Regions from separate parts of the Homo sapiens genome. Here region 2 is linked to region 1. The links are contacts of gene promoters, found by promoter capture Hi-C in human tissues and cell types (Jung and others, 2019). All regions are on one chromosome and are shown on one strand. Each heading gives the region's core, a stretch centred on a gene start or on the middle of the fragment in contact. The rest is flanking DNA. Distances are from core to core; before and after follow the strand shown. Region 1 holds the start of ACOT12 (acyl-CoA thioesterase 12). Region 2 overlaps ACOT12 (acyl-CoA thioesterase 12).

What was found. Contacts are between HindIII fragments. The study calls those that stand out against the background at their distance.
Region 2: a fragment that was not itself captured here is called in contact with the fragment with the promoter of ACOT12 in region 1 in 1 of the 25 tissues and cell types used here (liver).

Annotation. Positions count from the first base shown.
Region 1 is chr5:81,391,066-81,397,782 of GRCh38, reverse strand. ACOT12 (acyl-CoA thioesterase 12) reads left to right here and starts at 3,649. Exons shown (of 15, transcript NM_130767.3): 1 at 3,649-3,795. The coding sequence starts at 3,669. The HindIII fragment of the contact is 9,735 bases long and covers 1-6,717 here.
Region 2 is chr5:81,348,733-81,355,449 of GRCh38, reverse strand. All of the region lies in intron 5 of ACOT12 (acyl-CoA thioesterase 12), which reads left to right. Among named protein-coding and RNA genes, the nearest start is that of ACOT12, 42 kb to the left of the region's middle. The HindIII fragment of the contact is 6,823 bases long and covers 1-6,378 here.

The DNA of each region.
Region 1 (6,717 bases), core at 2,400-4,899:
ATTCCCCAAAGTCACTGCCATCCCTAGAGCAGGGTTCAGGGGCAGAGAAGGACAGGAGACCCTCCAGTCAAGAAGTTGGCGGCCAAAAGCTGAGAAAACCCATCCTGGAATTTTTGCTTAGGGGCTCTGAGTTTAAACTTTGAACCACATCCTTATAAATTTGTATTTGAATTTGGAAACACTGACCTGACACCTTTTAAAACATACCAAATGTAGAGAGAGAGTTTGATGGCTAATCAAGTTCATCTCTGTATGAAGTACTTGAACTAGCAAACCCTCTGTCTGGGACATATCTCCCACAATGGAAAGGCTCCCGGCTGCCTCTGCTGTTCAGGACAGTAAGGATTTTGGCTCTCTGCCTTGCCCACATGGCCACGGCACTCACCATTCTGAGTCCTAGTCCAAGCTGACAGCGTCTTCCTGTCCTACTGAGATAAAGCTCCAGCTGAAAGCTTGCTCTTGCTCTGAAATCTGCAGAAGTCCTGGGGAGTTCATCTCCTGGGACCAGCCCTTAGTCAATGAAGGATGCCAGTCAGAGGATAAAAACCCCAGGGTTCATGCCAGTGGGAGGGATGGCTGGGGCTGTTCTTCACAAACTGTAATGTGCCCCTGAATCACCTAGGAATCTTAATAAAATTTAGACTCTAATTCAGTAGGTCTGAGTTGGAGCCTGAAATTCTGCATTTATAATTTTTTCTTTTCTTTTCTTTTCGAGACAGGGTCTCACTGTGTCACTCAGACTGAAGTGCAGTGGCCCAATCATGGCTCACTGCAGCCTCGACCTCCTGGGCTCAAGCAATCCTCCCACCTCAGCCTCCCAAAGTAGCTGGGACCACAGGCATATGCTACCTTTCCTGGCTAATTTTTAAATTTTTTTTTTTTTTTTATAGAGACAAGGTCTCTCTATGTTACTCAGGCTGGTCTCAAACTCCTAGGATGAAGTGATCCTCCTGCCTCAGCATCCCAAAGTGCTGGGATTATAAGCATGAGCCAACACTCCCGGCCTGAGATTCTGCATTTCTAAGAGGATCCTAGGTGAGGCTGAGGCTGCTTACCTGGGGACTACACTTTGATGCCCCTACCAGTGCTTTCTGCAATTTCCTCCCAAATAAACTGTCTGCTCTCAAATTCTTGTCAGAGGCTCTGTTTCTGGAGAAAGCATTTTTTTTTCTACCTCTCTACTTATATTCCAGGTTCCTTGTTCTTAGTTTTCACAAAACCCAGCCACTACCTTACAATGTGACCCAAGGAAATCACTTCATTTCCTCATCTCTAGAATAAGAGTTTAGACTGTCCAGTTCCCCTTCCCACTCCAGCATTTTAAAGATTTTCTCGTTATTCTAGTGATTGTGGAACTTCCCACACTTTTTTGGATCAGCTTTCCTGCTCCTGTGTACAAACTTTTAAAATCAAGCTGGCTTCACATTCTGCTTATCTTCAAAAATGTCTCTAAACACAAATGAAACTCGACCTTTTATTCAAGCATAATAGTAAAAATCTTTGACACCAGAGAGAAATGGAGGTAACAAATGTTCATGCATGCAGATGACATTTTCATTGTAAAAGGAAGAAAGGGACCATTCAGAAAAACACAAGAATAGTAAAATGAAAATTAGTATGAAACCAACAAAAGATATGAAACCATAATCTGAAGACATCTAAACAGGAGATAATAAAGATAAGAAAACACAGCAGTGAATTTGTGTACCATGTCTGCTTTTAAAGCAACATCTCTAGACAAACACACAAATATACACATGCTGTCCCCTTCAAGAAAATCATTTTGGAAACCCATCCTCTTACACTTATGCGTAAACATTTTTGAAATTTCTTCTTCTTTTTCTTTTTTTTTTTTTTTTTTTTTGAGACTCAAGCTCACTGCAACCTCTGCCTTTTTGGCTCAAGTGATCCTCCTGCCTCAGCCTCCTGAGTAGCTGGGACCACAGGGACACACCACCACGCCCAACTAATTCTTGTATTTTTGGTAGAGAGAGGGTTTCACCATGTTGCTCAGGCTGGTCTTGAACTCCTGAGCTCAAGCAATTTACCTAACCTCAGCCTCCCAAAGTGCTGGGATTATAGGCATGAGCCACTGCGCCTGGCCTAAGTTTCTTTAGTTTATAAGAAACCAAGTATACAACCATACACATAATTCAATATCACCACTTTAGTCACCACTTTTTACCCAAAATAATACAACCCAGCCTAAATGCAAACTTTATTTCCAGTAATTTAATAAACTTCCCAAATATTAATACAGTTCACTCATGTAACTGTCAGCTATTGCTGCATAACAGACAACCCCCAAAATCACAGTGGCACACAACAATAAGTAGTTATGTCTCACTCAAGAGTCTTCATGTCTGCTGGGTTGCTCTGCTTCAGGCTGTGAGTCCTCCGGCTGGCTGAGATGCCTCTGCAATACGTGAATTCAGTCTGGTACCCAGATGCTAATAGGCAGCTACTTGACCTCATGGCAGAGGTCAGATGTTCCTGAGAACAGAAACACGGTGCTTCTAAAGGCAAGACTGGTGGTACACTGCTATCTCTCCACATTCCATTCTTAAGCAAGCCACATGGCCAAGTCCAAGGTCAATAAATGACTCTCACAGAGTTATTGGTAGATGGAGTGAATATATGATAATCTATCAATTCCTAAATTATGATTTCTCAATACAGAAGTCATTAAAAAGGCATTTTCCAAGGAGGAGTGCCAAAAGCGATGTAATAACGTTATCATTGAAATAAGTGTATAGCTACATAATGGGACCATCTTGGATGCACAAGTTTTTGTTTGCTTTTAAAAGTTATTTTAATGCCTTTTATATAAGTCAGACTTCATGCTTGCCTCAGTGAAAACATGCAATTCCTATTTATGATTGGATTGTCCTGAAACCTATACACAGAGGCTCCTAAAAGCTATCAAGTCAACATTTCCTTATTTCTTCACTTTCATTTTAAAAAAAATCTTTTAAAAAGGAAAGAAAAATACCAGAATCTCCATTCTGATGTCGCCATGCTGAGGCTTGGCAAGCCAAAAATATAAGGATGAAAAGGCACCACCAATTCGTGAGAGTCGGCTAGGCTTCTTCGTGCTATTCCGGACAGTCAGGAGCCCTGGGTTCCAGCCAGGTGATCGGGTCGCTTATCGGCTCCTATCACCTCAGCTGCTTGCTCCACTTCTCCGGGTTTCCAGTTCTCCATCGTAAATGTGCTCCCTGGAGCAGCCTCCCCTGACAGTCAGACATCCACCAATCCATTAGATGCTGGAGGTTTTCTGGAGACACTGTTTCCCTAATGAGGACTGCTTTGTACAGTCACTGATAGCAGCTCTAGAAAGTGTAACAGCTTTTTTATCTCAAAAGCTGTTCCTCGCGCTCCGGCTCTCGGGGAGCCGCCTTCCAGACCTGTCTACCCGGGAGCCCCCTCCCCGCGCACTTCCCAGACTTCTCCTGAGACCCGAGAGCGCTGGTTTTCCCCCACTCGCGATAGTCCTGGGATGACAGTGCGGGCCCCCTCACTCGCAGCTCCCACCACCTGGCGGCCAGGGGTTCGCGGCCCGGGCGGGCGGCGCCAGTGCCCTCTGGAGCTGGGCGGGGAGGGCGGGGCGGGCGGAGCGGGCATGGTGGGGTGTCGGGGGCCGCAGGCGTAGCGCTCTCGCCCTGGCCATGGAGCGGCCGGCGCCCGGCGAGGTGGTCATGAGCCAAGCCATCCAGCCGGCGCACGCCACTGCGCGCGGCGAGCTGAGCGCGGGGCAGCTGCTCAAGTGGATCGACACCACCGCCTGCCTGGCGGGTAGGCGGGCGCCGGGGCTGCGGGGAGGCGCGGGACCGGGGCTGCGGGAGCGGCGGCGGCTGGGGGCTGGGGGGGGTAGGAAGGCGAGGAAGGTACTTGCGGAGAGCTGAACCCTGCGCAGCCAGGGATAGGGGTGTTGCAACAGTGCGCCCGCGCTGGGCATGGCCGAGACCGGTGGTTCCCAAATGTGTGGCTCTCGGGACTCCTTCATTCCATTAAACAAGTGAGGAGCCCAGAGAGCTTCTGCGGGGTTTTTTGTTTGTTTGTTTGTTGTTGTTGTTGTTGAGCTCTCTCCCGGGCTGGAGAGCGGTGGCGCCATCAGAGGTCGCTGCAGCCTCGACCTCCTGAGCTAAAGCGATCCTCCCACCTCAGCCTCCAGAGTAACTAGGACCACAGACGCACGCCACCAGGCCCAGCTGACTTTGGGAGTTTTGTTTTGTTTTGCTTTTGTAGAGATGGGGTCTCACTATGTTGCCCAGGCTGGTCTCAAACGCCTGGACTCAAGTGATCCTGAAGTGTTGGGAGGCCCCAGCCTCCCAAAGTGTTGGGATTACAGGCATGAGCCACCGCACCCAGGCAGCTTTTGTTTATGTAGGCTATTTATATCACATTTACCGTAATGGAAATTTAAAATTTTTAATTATTTTTAAAAAAGAAATGGACTACATTGTTAGCATAACATTTTTAATTAAGAAATAACTATTTTCCACAAGAACAAAAGTGTAGCGAGAGGAGTGGTGATAAAGGTTACATCCTGGCGAGTCTCTCTAAGGTCTGGCTAGTGGAGGATTGCTGACTACTCATACCTGCTTCTGCATTCACCCTGCTGCTACCACACCCTTATGTAGTCTCTGGAAAACTCCACTGTGTTCTTGTGACAGAATGACAGTAAAAATGGCAAAAACATTTATTAAGGACTGAATTATATCCCCCACACCACCCACCGAAATTTATACACTGAAGTCCTAACCCCTGGTGTGACTCTATTTGGAGTGAAGAATTAAGGCTAATGAGGTCATAAGAGTGGAATCCTGGTCCCATACAATTAATGTCCTTATAAGAAGAGACACTGGAGAGCTTCTCTCTGCCATGTGAGGCCACAGCAGGAAGACAGCCATCCACAGGCCAGGAAGAGAGCCCTCACTAGGACCTACAATGGGCAAGCACCTCGATTTGGAACTTCCCTGCCTCCACAATTGTGAGAAATCAATGATTCGTTTAAGCCTTTTTTTTTTTTAACAGGATTTGAGATTGGTTATATTAACAATGGAAACATGAATACAAAATTAATCCACACATAGGAAAAAAGAATAATACATAAACCACTGAGGTTGCTAATAATAATGATGCCTGTTTCCAAGGCAACTGAATACATTATGAGACCACTGAAGTGACTTTTAGTTACCTTGCTTAGTGCCTCTGTCTTGTGATGGAGAAACAATGGCCCACCTGCAATTGTCATCATTTCTATGACCTGACATCTTTGGAAACCATGGAAAGATCCAATTGACAATCAATTACTCTATACCTTAATAGTTACATTACTATTAGTAGTATAATATTAATAACTGATAATGTTACTAATATTAAGAAAACCTGTATGATAAAGTTGGTTTGGGCAACATGAATAACGCCTGTGTTAAACACTTTATGGTGACCTGAGGCACCACATAAGCAGGGGACATTATTTAGCCAAGGTGTAACTGAATCTGTGTAGTAATATAAAACTGATTTCTCTGGGATTTTCTCAGAGTTTTTTATAGGCCAGCATTATCTCTTTAGCCACATTACTGCAATCCCAGTCATGGCCCCCAAGGCATTTCTATGACCCCTAGGCACTGCTGGATTCCAAAATGTCTTCTCAATATTTAAAGAAAGATGAAATATTCTCACTATCCTTACTTCTGTCAGTGGCCCCATTATTTTTCCAGTCCCTTAAGTCTAAAGTCTTGAAGCTATCTGAGTAATCCTCTATCTCACACGTCCATGTATTATTTTGGAACATCTCACACACACGGTTTTTTATTTGTGAATCTTTTCCAGGGTTTACTATCTCTGGAGTGGCACCCAACTCATCTAGTTGAGCAAGTCAAAAGTCTAGGAGTCATCCTTGATATTTCTCTCTCCACCTTACTTCTCACTTCACATACTCTATGCATGGAGCAAGTCCTATCAGTGTTACCCCCTAAAGGAGTCTCTGAAATCCAAGCACTTTGCTGCACCCCCATTGCGACCATCTACTCCAAGCTATCATCATGTTTCATGCAGACTTCAGCAGTGATTTCCAAACTCATCTCCATTCGTTCTGGTCTCCTCTCCACACTGCTTCTAAAGTAATCTTTGAAGATGCTAATCTGATTGATCATGTCATATGTTTTGTTCATTTTTCCCTTTCTTTTCTTCACCAAGGGCTTTAAGGATTTTTCTAAGATGTTCAAGTGCTTCCTACTAAAAAATCTCCCACAGATAATAATTATAAACTCTGGGCAAAACACTAAATAAAAGAGACTTAAGGCAGGTGAAAAGTGAACAAAAGTAGGCTTATAACACTTGAAAGTTAACACATGAAAGAACAAAGTGGTGTTGGCTTTTTCTGTGTTTGTTTTATAAATGACTTGAAGCCTGAAAGAAAATGCCAGTCTGCTCCCAGCTATAGTTCTGATGGAAAACCCACAGGCTTGCTGGTTTGAAGAGCCCAAAGACAGGGTTTGGGAAAAGCACAGCTACTGAATGAAATACAAAAGGGAAAGTTCCAGAAAGGAAAGAGCCAGAGAGACAGAGCCCTAAAATCTATCTATAATCTTTTCCCAGATATCTGGCAAATCTTGAATCATGTATACATAGGACAGACTCCAAACCTCCTGGTTGAGGCCAAAAGAACTGAAAATAGTTGTGCCCATCTCTAGGTAGACAGATTATAGT
Region 2 (6,717 bases), core at 1,718-4,217, 42 kb after region 1:
CTTTTGCTTGACATAATGACCTCAGTTCCATCCATGTTGTTGCAAATGACAGGATGTCCTTCTGTGTTATGCTGAATAGTACTGTAACAGGTCTATAACCAAAACCTCTGACTTTGCTTTTCTCAGCTTGCCGAAGCAAGGTAAATAATAAACAAAACGAGAACTGTAAAATGGGAATAATAAAGGTACTTACATAATGGGTTTATGGGAGCATTAAATGAGTTAATATAGAAAGTGTCAGGCATGCAGAAAGTGCTGTCATTTCTATTATTGTTTGAGAGGTCCCCTCCACAGGAGGAATTAGAGCCAAGAGTTAAAGACAGATGCTTCTCAGGAACTATGCTGTAAAGGATGAAAGAAATAGCCTGGAGCTACAGGCGACCCTCAAAGTCAAGGGGCATTGTTTTTCAGGCTAGGAGAAATTTGGTCATGGTTCCAGGCTGATCAAGATGATTGATGAGGCCTGGCGGTGGCTTATGCCTATAATCTCAGCACTTTGGGAGGCTGAGGCAGGCGGATCACTTGAGATCAGGAGTTCGAGACCATGGTGAAACCCTGTCTCTACTAAAAATACAAAAATTAGCCAGGCGTGGTGGTGCACTACTGTAATCCCAGCTACTCAGGAGGCTGAGGCAAGAGAATTGCTTGAACCCAAGAGGCGGAGTTTACAGTGAACCAAGATTGCACCACTGCAGTCCAGCCTAGGCCACAGAGCCAGATTCTGACTCAAAAATAAAAAAAAAAAGACATAATTGATAAAAATAATTATTGAGGAAGAAGTTAATTATAAAAGAAAGAGATAATTCGTGTCAAATCTGTACTTTAGACACTGGGAAATTGTTGTCATGTTTTTATCTTGGAGGAATGGGGATCTCTGCTACCCTGAGCTCCCTTGCGAGGGTTCGTCTATTGGGAAGGGTTGCTAGGATGGTGACTGAAGCTGTCTTCACACCCCCCTCAAGGTAACAAGAGCCAGGTAAACATGGGTGGCTGCACCGGCTTCTTCTGGTGTTGTGCAAGTTGCACTAATAAGTGAAATCAGCAGCAGACAATTTGTCTGCACAACACTAACAGTACTTTGAATACTGGAGATAGTCTAAATTAGTGACAGGCACACATGACAGTCATTCAAATATAGAGATAAAACGATTGCAATTGACTTGAGTTTCAGTGTGTTACAAAGTTGGCCAGATTAGATCTACATCTACATGTCTAGTTCAAAGTTCAATTTCAAATTATAGATTTTTCTCAAAGTCTTCTTTTATCATCTGCTTTGTTTAATCTGCCCTAACTTATTCTACATCCTTTCACATAAAACAACTTTTAACCTAATTCCACTGATCTGATTTTGTTTTTGGAAATTTTACTAACTTCCATGCCAGCAAAGGTGCCAGAGAACTTAAAAGCAATTCATCTTAAAGAATGCAAGAGCCAGACTCTGACATTTAAAGCCGCTGTGTAGTATGTGATTTCTCCACCTGCTGCTCCTTAGATCAGATGGAGTTGGTTTTTGATAGGACATTGTGTGTTCTAAAAGAAGAGAACCAACCCATCTCTGTTCTTGTACCATGTTTTTAGAAAACCAGGGGTTTGTGTTGGTTATAAATATCAAACATAAAAGATTGGAATATTTTTCAAGATGTTGTATGATGGAAATGCATATTATTAGAACAGTGAGAACATTGAATCCAGATCATATCCTTTCGGAAGAAAAGAAAAGAGATGAGATTAGTTTTGTAAAAGCAGGATATTTCTGGAATGTGTATAAGCACGCACATCTCAGAAATACTACTGGATCATTATTTGCAAGCTTGACATATAGGGGAAAAACTTAAAATTTGAAAGCATTTTAATTTAATTTTTGAGTAAGAAAATCAGATCTTAAGAGCATTATCATGGTTAATTTTCTGGATATGCAGAAAGAAAACTAGGGCTAGCATGACCTCAATTCAGGTCAAAGTTCCTGATCTACAAATGTAGAGTGAATGTAAAGTTGTCAAAGCAGGTTGATGACACAGTACTTTAAGAACATCCAAAGTACACGTATTGAACTTGATCACTCAAAGCCAGCAGAAAGGGTGAGTTCTGTTTACTTAACCCAAACCAGAACTGCGAGCCTGAATTGCTCTCTGAACCTGGGAAAACCCTATTTTTTTCGTTGGTTGTAAATTAACTCCAAATAAGCAAACTTCTGCACCAAAGTCATCTAACTCAATATATTTCTGCATACGTATCATAGCTGATGCTGGTGCACGTATAATCTCACCTAGCACCTCCCTCTACAGGTTCCAGTATATACTGTATATGTCTTCATAGGAAGTATGTGGTTTCTCTTTAAAGTTATCCCTCAGAAAAGAAGGAGCTGCTTTATATTTGAGTCTTTACAATGTCTCTCATAAGGCCTTCTCTTAATTTTTTATTTATAATTATCTAAAAACTATTTTTAAAGAGATAGTACATGCACAGGGTAAAAAATGCAAAACGCATAAAAAGGCATATAGTTAAAAAGTAAGTCTGCCTACCGTCTCACTTCCCACCTTCAGAGACCGTCACTATCACACACACTTCAATTTCTGTGGGTACACAGTAGGTGTATATATTTATGGGATACATGAAATACTGTGATACAAGCATACAAATGTGCAATAATCACATCATGTAAAATGGGGTATCCACTCCTTCAAGTGTGACAAACAATCCAATGATACTCGTTATTTTTAAATATATAATTAAATTATTATTGACTGTAGTCACCCTGTTGTGCTGTCAAACACTAGGTCTTATTCATTCTTTCTAACTATATTTTTGTACCCATTAACCATCCCCACCCTCCCACTACCCTTCCCAGCCTCTCATAAGCATGCTTCTGCTATCTCCATGAGTTCAATTGTTTTGATTTTTAGCTCCCACAAATAAGTGAAAACATGCAATGTTTGTCGTTTGTCTTTCTGTGCCTTATTTCACTTATAATGATCTCCAGTTCCATCCATGTTGTTGCGGATGACAGGATCTCATTCTTTTTTATGGCTGAATAGTATTCTGTTGTGTATATGTATCATATTTTCTTTATTCATTCATCTGTTGATAGACACTTAGGTTGCTTCCAAATTTTAGCTATTGTGAACAGGGCTGCAACAAACATGGGAATGCATATATCTCTTCAGTATCCTGATTTCCTTTCTTTTGGGTGTATACCCAGCAATGGGATTGCTGGATCTGATGATAGTTCTGTTTTTAGTCTTTTGAGGAACCTCCAAACTGTTCTTCATAGGGGTTGTACTAATTTACATTCCCACCAACAGTGTATGAAGGTTCCCTTTTCTCCACATCCTTACCAGCACTGGTTATTGCCTGTCTTTGGGATAAAAGGCATTTTAACTGAGGTGAGATGATACCTCATTGTAGTTTTGATTTGCATTTCTCTGATGATCAGTGATGTCGATACCTTTTTATATGCCTGTTTGCCATTTGCATGTCTTCTTTTGAGAAATGTCTATTCAAATCTTTGGCCCATTTTTTAATCAGATTATTAGATTTTTTTCCTATAGTGCTGTTTAAGCTCCTTATATATTCTGGTTATTAATCGCTTATCAGATGGATAGCTTTCAAATATTTTCTCCCATTCTGTGGGTTGTCTCTTCACTTTGTTGATTGTTTTCTTTGCTGTGCAGATGCTTTTTAACTTGATGTGATTCCGTTTGTTGATTTTTGCTTTGGTTACCTGTGCTTGTGGGGTACTGCTCAATAAATTTTTGTCCAGACCAATGTCCTGGAGAGTTTCCCTGATGTTTTCCTATAATGGTTTTATAGTTTGAGGTCTTAGATTTAAGCCTTTCATCCATTTTGATTTGATTTTTGTGTATGGTAAGAGATAGTGGTCTAGTTTCATTCTTCTGCATATGAGTATCCAGTTTTCCCAGCACCATTTATTGAAGAGATTGTCCTTTCCCCAATGTATGTTCTTGGCACCTTTGTCAAATATGAGTTCACTGTGGGTGTGTGAATCTGTTTCTGGGTTCCCAGTTCTGTTCCATTGGTCTATGTGTCTGTTTTTATGCCAGTGCCTGGCTGTTTTGCTTACTACAACTCTGTAGCATAATTTGAAGTCAGATAATTGTATTAATTTATTTTAAACAAAAAATGTGCCATTTGAGTAAGTAACATTAGCCTGAAAACAACCTCAATAAATACTAGTTTGGGATATGTATAAAACATCTTCAAATAAAATCAATTTTAGAAAGAGAGAGAAATTGAAAGGGATTAAGATTGTGTATTTCTTTCAAAGATCACTTTAGAAAGTGATTCCATTTTGATTCTAGCAATATAGTGGATTCATTGTTGGGTAAAACCAAAAATTTCTGGAAAAATATTTACAAACATCTTTGCAAACACATCTCAGCAGGCAGAAAAATAAGAGAAAACTTTGAAGTCCAGAAATGGTGAGAAAACACAAATGCCGCAGTGCAAGGAAGCATGGGGGCTGGCATTTGTCCTGGAGGACCCAGCAGGTGGGCCTGCTTGGGCTCAGGAGACAAAACCAGGCGTCCATGTGAGGGAGAAGGTTGGATCAGGGAACCTTCCTTGGTGCTGGAACCTCCAAAAGGTGATTCCCTCAGTGAGTCAACCAGAAAAATTCCACCCTCCAGAGAGCCTTAGCCTTAGGTGGAATGGGAAAAAAAATTCTCTCCCTTTCAGAATTCAATCACAAGTGCATCCTCATGAAGATTTGGATCCTCAGAAGTCACATGACCTGTCTGGGCTAAAACAGAACAAGTAAACTTTAGTGTAAAGTGGTGCTGTGTTGTAGGACCCCAGGGGATCTGCAGCTGCAAATGCAGCTCCTTTGTGAAGAAATGACTTTAAAGCCAGCTCCCAAGAATTTCCACAGAAAAAGATCCAAGCAATATGAGATCCTAGTGAAAAATCATAAAAGATAGAAATAAAGCAAGGCTTCAAGATCTGGAAGTGACACCAGGCCCCACAAAGTCTGAACGAGGCCCACAAAGACAGCAGATAATGAATTTATCAAGTAAGATGAAGAGGCTTAATATGTTTTAAGAAATAAAAGAGTATCAAGAGTATAATGCAAGAACAACAACAACAAAAAAGATAACCTAGAAGGTTTAACAAAGAAACAAAGACGATTTCTATAAAAAAGAATATATAATAATTAAAATTTGAAACTCAGTGAATGAATGAAACAGCAGATAAGACAAGGAACTGGAAGATAGATCTGAAAGAGTTAACTAGAATGCAGCCAGATAGACAAAGAGATGGGGAACATGTAAGGGAGGTTAGGAAACATGAAGAATGGAGAGAAATGTCTAACATGCAAAAAAATTCTCCGGAAATGAGACAAGCAATATTTGAAGCAAATGATATAAAGAGACATTTCATGAAGAGGTGACAAGAATACTTAATATACATGTAAAAAGATGTTGGAACTCATTAGTAATCAGGAAAATGCAAATTATAACCAACGTGAGATACTCTTCCACACCCACCAAACTGGAAATAGTTGAGTGTCTGATACTTCTAAGCAAAAATGGGGACCAGTGGGGACTCTCATCAACAGCAGACAGAAGTGTCAGTACAACTATTTTATTACCTAAAAATATTCTGTTGAGAGTAAGGACTATGAATGTTAAGGAAATCAGCTAAGTTAAGTTTATTCATTCATTTCATTTAATAAATATTTATTGAGCACCTATGTTCAGGAATTATATGAGAATTTTAAAAATCCATAGTCCCTGCACCAAAAAGCTTAGGATCTAGTGGGTCACATAATAAAAGGGCACACAAATAACATAAAACTATAGCCATGAAAGAAAGATCCTTCAAGAGACCCTGAAGGTGGGGCTGAGCTGTGGAGGTCAGAGAAGGCTCCACTGAGGAAGTAATGACCAAGGGGGGGCCACAGAGTATGAGTGAAATTGAAGACACAGGTGATGGTGGCCAGGGGGATTGCCGTAGACAGCAGGGATGTGACAAATGCCCTGTTGTTGAAGGTAATACTTCCTCAGAGGAAGTGAAAAAAGACCAGCGTGGCTGGAGCAAAGGGAGAGGGAGAGTGAGGCCAGACCAGGAATGCAGGGCTTGCAGGCCATGGGAAGGATTTGGGGTTTTATACGAGAACAATGGGTAGCTACTGACTTGTTTTAAGCTGGGGACTGAAACGATCACTGGAAATAAGAAAAAATAAAAGAGATCATCAATTAATTATAAATCTAAAAATTACATTAGGAAGTGGAATTAAGGGTTTCTGTGACTACCCTTCTGGATCACCAGATGTGACTATGCCGAGAGCAGCAACAGTTGCTGGGCATATCTTCCCTCTCACACTGCAAGCTCAGCTCTGCCTCTGACAGTACAGCCACGATGGTGTCCCAGTTTGTAAATCCTTTCCCCCTCCTTCCCAACAATAGCATGTGAGATGGAAACCTAGCCGGTGGTTCACTTCGTGATGCAAAAAGCATAATTGAATACATTTTACTGCTTTGCAGCCAGAGTAAATGATTTTTCCATTGTTAAGAGTAAAAACCAATTTGTTAGTAAACGGAGCAGATATGATTCAAAAGAAGCAGAAAGCTAGGCGCGGTGGCTCACGCCTGTATTCCCAGCACTTTGGGAGGCCGAGGCGGGCAGATCACCTGAGGTCAGGAGTTCAAGACCAGCCTGGCCAACATGGTGAAAACCATCTCTACTGAAAATACAAAA